Regions from separate parts of the Homo sapiens genome. Here region 2 is linked to region 1. Evidence: promoter capture Hi-C in human tissues and cell types (Jung and others, 2019). All regions are on one chromosome and are shown on one strand. The core of a region is centred on a gene start or on the middle of the fragment in contact, and the rest is flanking DNA. Distances in the headings are between cores, read along the strand shown.

Evidence for each region. Contacts are between HindIII fragments. The study calls those that stand out against the background at their distance.
Region 2: a fragment that was not itself captured here is called in contact with the fragment with the promoter of DBF4B in region 1 in 1 of the 25 tissues and cell types used here (spleen).

Annotation. Positions count from the first base shown.
Region 1 is chr17:44,707,287-44,710,185 of GRCh38, forward strand. It overlaps DBF4B (DBF4B-CDC7 kinase regulatory subunit), which reads left to right and starts at 1,379. Exons shown (of 14, transcript NM_145663.3): 1 at 1,379-1,553; 2 at 2,018-2,080. The coding sequence starts at 1,535. RefSeq lists enhancers at 1,185-1,699, 1,700-2,213. The HindIII fragment of the contact is 13,873 bases long and covers 1-2,899 here.
Region 2 is chr17:45,765,950-45,768,649 of GRCh38, forward strand. All of the region lies in intron 3 of LINC02210-CRHR1 (LINC02210-CRHR1 readthrough), which reads left to right. Among named protein-coding and RNA genes, the nearest start is that of CRHR1, 17 kb to the right of the region's middle. The HindIII fragment of the contact is 6,380 bases long and covers 1-2,700 here.

The sequences.
Region 1 (2,899 bases), core at 129-2,628:
TGAGCCAAGATTGCGCCACTGCACTCCAGCCTGGGCGACAGAGCGAGACTCCCTCTCAATAAAAAAATAAATAAATATAAAAACTATCACTCTGGTTGCTGAATGGAGAATGGATTATACTGGGGAGAGATAGGAAGCTACTCGGGAGTAGAAGTGAAGAATTGACCGCAGTACTTTAGGCAAGAAATGATAGCAGCTTGAACTAGGGTGGTGGTGGTCTGATTCCAGATGTACTTTGGAGGCAGAGTTAGTAGGATTTTTTTCTTGGAGTGGGGATGGGCACAAGGGAAAGTACTGAAAGACAACTTCTAGGTTTTTGGTTTGAGCAACTGGGTGAATGATTGTGACATTTGAGTAAACAGTAACATTTTACTGAGAGGGGAAGACCTGGGGGGAGAACAGGTGGTTTTTTGACAGGGGCAGCGAAACAAATGTTCTGTTTTGAATGTGTTCAGCCTGAGGTGCCTATTAGACATCCAAATTGAAATAGCCAGTAGGCACTTGAATATGTGAGTCTGGAGATCAGACAGGTCAGAGCTACAGAAAATCTGAAGGTGTGGCAGAGCTGAATTGTAAAGCTGTGGAGCTGGATGAGATCTCCTAGGGAGATAAGGGAGAGGGATAAGGGCTAAAGCGTTGGCATACTCCAAAATATATAGGTGAACAGTGGCTTTGGATCCAGCAAAGGGGACTGAGGAGGAACCATTGAGATAGGGAAAAAAACGGTAGAGTGCTGAGTCATGGAAGCAAAAAGAAGAAAGTATTTCAAAGAAGGAATAGTCCATCTATAAGTTGGATATGATAAGGATAGTATTTCAGACTGTGGAAATCACAGTTGACCTGGATAAGTACAGTTTTTGTGGGGAGGTCCCCAGCTCTCCACTGAATGATCTCTTATTAGATCAAATTTGATCTCTAATTAGCAGTCTAATTAGATGGGTTGAAGAAAAGATGGGAAGTGAGGGATAAAGATACGTCTTTTGAGAAGTTTTGTTGGGCAGGTAATAATTGAAGAACGGGAGGGGGACAAAAATGTGAAGATGAAATGATGTGTAAGTGAAATCTTTATGTAAACTGCAAATGCTCTGCAAGTGTTAGGCTTATTTTGTTATTTAGTATTCAAACTTCTAGGAATTTCAATGCAGCTCAGTGTGAAGAATCACTAAAAAGCGACCACTAGTCCTCAACTTGAGGGCCATTAAGGGGCAAAGCCGTCTAGCCAGTGAAGAGCCAAGAAATGAAGAGACGGTTTGAGAAGACGTAGGCGGTGGGGGAACGGAAAGAGGAATCGCGAAACTAATATTGTCCTTCCAAGGACACCGTAGGGCGGATCTCGCAGCTACGGCGTTCTTTTAGGGGTGGAGCCGGCAGGAAATTTAAACTGAAGCCGCGGCCGAAAACGCCAAGAGATTGATGCTGTAGCTGCCCTGAGATAACCAGGACTGTGGAATCGGGAAGAGCTCATGGAGCTCGCGAATGTAATACGGAGGCCTCTGAGGAAGGAGTACGGAGGCCGAGAAGGAGCCGGCATTTGATGAGCGAACCGGGAAAGGGTACGGATGCCGGGAAGGGGAGAAAGAAAGGCGGAAGGGGTCGTTAATAGCTGAGGCGAGGTGCGGAGTCGTGGAGGGGGCTTAGGAAGTGACCAGCGGGTAGGTGCCGAAGCTGAGGAGGGTATAGGGGCCGGGAAGGAGCCACAGGAGTTGAGGGGACCGAGGAATGAAGGTGGCAGAGGAACGTAGGGGACAACAGCCTGGAGGGATGTATGGAGATTGAGATGGACAGGAGGTGGCCAAGAGGTCACGGCCGTTGACTGAACGGAGTCTGAAAGGAGGCGGAGGGCATGAGGGGCAAGAGCCTGGCGGGAGTCGCGGGATGTAGGTCGGAATGGAGTTGAGTCTTGCTGTTCCCAGGAGTCGCGTTTCTGTGCGCGTTTTGGGAGACAGTAGTGGGCGGGAGGCATGGAAGTTCCAAGGGTTGGTGAAGATGGTTGAGTTGCTGTTATGTCCTTTCTCAGGAGACGATTGCCTCGAGCTGGAGAGTTCCATGGCTGAGAGTAGGCTCCGGGCCCCGGACCTAGGTGGGTAACAGGACAGAACTAGGGACGTGAGGTGAAAATTGCCCCAGGGTCTCTTGGAGAAGACCGAAAAATGTTCCCCCTGTTGGAGTTTTCGATCACTCAGTGTTTTTATGTACTTATTTATTCATTTTATTTATTGGGATGGGGTCTTGCTGTGTTGGCCAAGCTGGTCTCAAACTCCTGGCCTCAAGCAGTTCTCCTGCCTAGGCCTCCCAAAATGCTGGGATTACAGGTGTGAGCCACTTCACCAGGCCCACTTAGTGGTTTTATGTGTGTGTGTGTATGGACGCAGCATCATAGACCGTTTTGGGATTCATGATAAAGGTCAAGTAAGAGTCATATTATGAACAAGATTAACAGACAGATGTGGAGTCAGGATAGAGTGACTTATTAAATATATAAATTAATACATTCATAGTTGTTTACAATAAAATCCTTAAGTTAAACACTGCTACCTAATTAGGTAAGTATTTTAGCACATGGCACTTCCCTCCGTACTGCCCCTTTAGTTAATATCATCTAGTTGGCCGGGCGCGGCTGCTCACGCCTGTAATCCCAGCACTTTGGGAGGCCAAGGCGGGCGGATCACGAGGTCAGGAGATTGAGACCATCCTGGCTAACACAGTGAAACCCCATCTCTACTAAAAATACAAAAAATTAGGCGGGCGTGGTGAGGCGTGCCTGTAGTCCCAGCTACTCAGGAGGCTGAGGCAGGAAAATTGATTGAACCCAGGAGGCGGAGGTTGCAGCGAGCCGAGATTGCGCCACTGCACTCCAACCTGGGCGACCGAGCGAGACTCCGTCTCAAAAAAAAGAAAA
Region 2 (2,700 bases), core at 62-2,561, 1.1 Mb after region 1:
GGTCTTGTGACCCTAGATGTGCCTCTCTACCTTCCCCAGGGCTTAGCAGCTAGGAGGGACCCTGCAGGGGCAGAGTGATCGGTGCCAGCCTGGGGCGGGGCTGTGGGGTGGGCAGCCCCCTTCACAGGCTGTCCATGCACTGGGGTGAGATGGGGCCCAGGGAGGGGTGTGGGGGGAAGGATGATCAGATTTTCCCAATGTGAAGGTGTGGGGCAACAGGGATCCCTATGTTTCTAGAGGAGGGGATGGCAGATGTCACCAGTGCCCTACCCTCGTGCCCTCCACTGGGATGACTCTGAGCTGGGGGTCCCACATGCCTCCCTGAGCTCCTCAATGGGATTAAGGTCCAGTCATCAGGCTTTCCTCCCTCCCCTGCCCGCCTTCCCCACCTCCCTACTGGGACCTCCTGGGATTACCTCCCAAATAAACAACCTGCCCTTGAATCTTTTTCACAGGTCCTGCTTCTGGGGAAACTCAAGACAGTATAAATTGGTGCAATCTATTTGGAGAAAGATTCAGCAATAAGTATCAAAATTATAAATGTACGTGTTCACGGGCCAGCAGCTCCACTTCTGGGAATTTATGCCATAAATATAACCTTTCATATGCCATATGATCTATGAATGAGGTTATTTATGGCAGCACTACTTTTAAGAGCCAAAGATTGAAAACACCTAAATGCCCATCGCTGGGGATGAGTTCGGCAGATCAGGGTTCATTCAACTGGCAGAATATTATGCAATCATTAAAAAGGAATGGAGGGGGCTACTCTTTATGGACTGATTTGGAACAATCTCCAAGATAAATTGCTAAGTGGGAAAAAAAGCAAGGTATAGAAGAGCACGTTTGTATAAAACAAAAAGAATATATAGCCGTAATTGCTTACTTATTGGATCGACGATCTCTGCAAATCTACCAAGAAACTGATAACCTTGGAGCCTGTGGAGAGAGGAATTAGGTGGCTGGGAGTGGGGAAGGGAGGGAGATTTTCAGGATATTTCCTATGCACCTTTTGATTTTTGCATCATGTGCAAGTTTGCATTATCTATTTAAAATGTAGTCTATGCAACTAAAAAAAATTATGAAGAATAATCATATACCTGGGTGCCTGCTATAATGATCAGTCCAATTTTAGCTTGTCTCGGGAAAGTTGAACCCATGGCTGGCAGCTTTCAACCTTCTCTTTCTCATTTACCACTCCCATAAGGTGGTTCTGCATCATTACTCCAGGGTTTCTAAATAATTAAAGTAGGCCTGAGTCCAGCCTTCCCCCAAGATGCTGAGAGTCCAAGCCGTCCTTCCCCTATCCCCTACCTGAGACATCAGAAGCTTCTTAAATAGTCCTGACTATTTAAGGGAAGAAGGACAGTTGCAGCCCTTCCTTTCTCGAGTGATTTGAAATGCAGACCACGGTTTTTGGAGAGGAGGAGATGAGGCAGGAGGCTGGAAGAAATGACCTTTTCACATCAGCTCTTCCTGGGTGGGTACCTATATTCCAGGGGCCTGGCGCAGTACCTGGCGCGTTTGTTGGCTGGCTGGCTGAATGTCTTTTTGTCCCAGAATTCCAGGCATGCAGGAACAAGGGGAAAGATGACCCCTCCTTCCAGTTCCTGGGGTCCTAGTCAATAATGGTTGGTGAGCAGAGCTCTGAAGTTGGACACTTTCGGGTAAAAATCCCAGCTGTAGCCTCCTTACTGCTATGAGACCTTAGGTGAATATCTACCCGAGCCTCAGTTTCCTCATCTACGCAATGGAGACAGAGGCCCCCTTTGCAAAGGATTAAATAAGGTTGCATCGGGGTGCTGCACAGTGTGCCCAGCACATAGTAGGCTTTGCTAGGTGTCTGCATATCTCTCCCCCTCCCTTGGCAGAAGGATGACCACTGCCACTGCTGAGACCAGACACTGTCCCCTCCTTGCCACCCTTGACTTGAGGGTGGAAGGAGGACCACCCTCAAGTCAAGGAGGTCCTCCTTCCATCTAACTGAAAACTCTCCGCTGTTACCCAGGCCGGTGCCCTCCTATGCTACTGTCATGCACAAGAGAAAAAGCTCTCAGCTTGTTCCCACTGAGCCTCTTCCAGATCTGAAGCCCCAAGGAAAGTCAAGGTTGAGTCCTGTGGGCCCAACAATGGGCAGCCCCAGGCCCTCTCTCTTTGCTTCCAATCCAGTCTCATCACTTTTCTCCTCTCTGCCCCCTCCTGGGCAGAGCGACTCTTGGTGCAAGGTCAGCTGTGAGCTGTCCAGGGTCCCTGGGCACACTCCTGCTCCTTCTCTGCCCCATTTCCTTCCCCTGCACCCAGGGAGTTGGGAAATAGCTCAGATTCCGATGACAAGGAGACTGGGCCCTAGGCAGAGCAGTGGCTGACAAGTTGCATGTTACAATAAATCCCCACAATTAGACCCTGCAAACAACACCGCTGCTGTCGCATCCCTAATATACAGCAGGGAGTCGGCTCAGTGTTCCTGGCAACCAATTCTTGAACTAAAAATAGTTGGCTGTGGCTTCACCTTTCCCTCCTCAGCATCCAGTCTCCATAGGTGCCAGGGAGGGAATGACCCTGGTGTCCAGGTCCTGCCCTGGTGCTGGAGGGCAGAGCATCAAGGGTTAACCCAGCCTTCACTAATGTGACTGTCAAGGAATTGCCCGCAGGGTAGGGAGTGGGGGTCTTCTGTGGGGGACGGGAGCCGGCCTGAGCTGT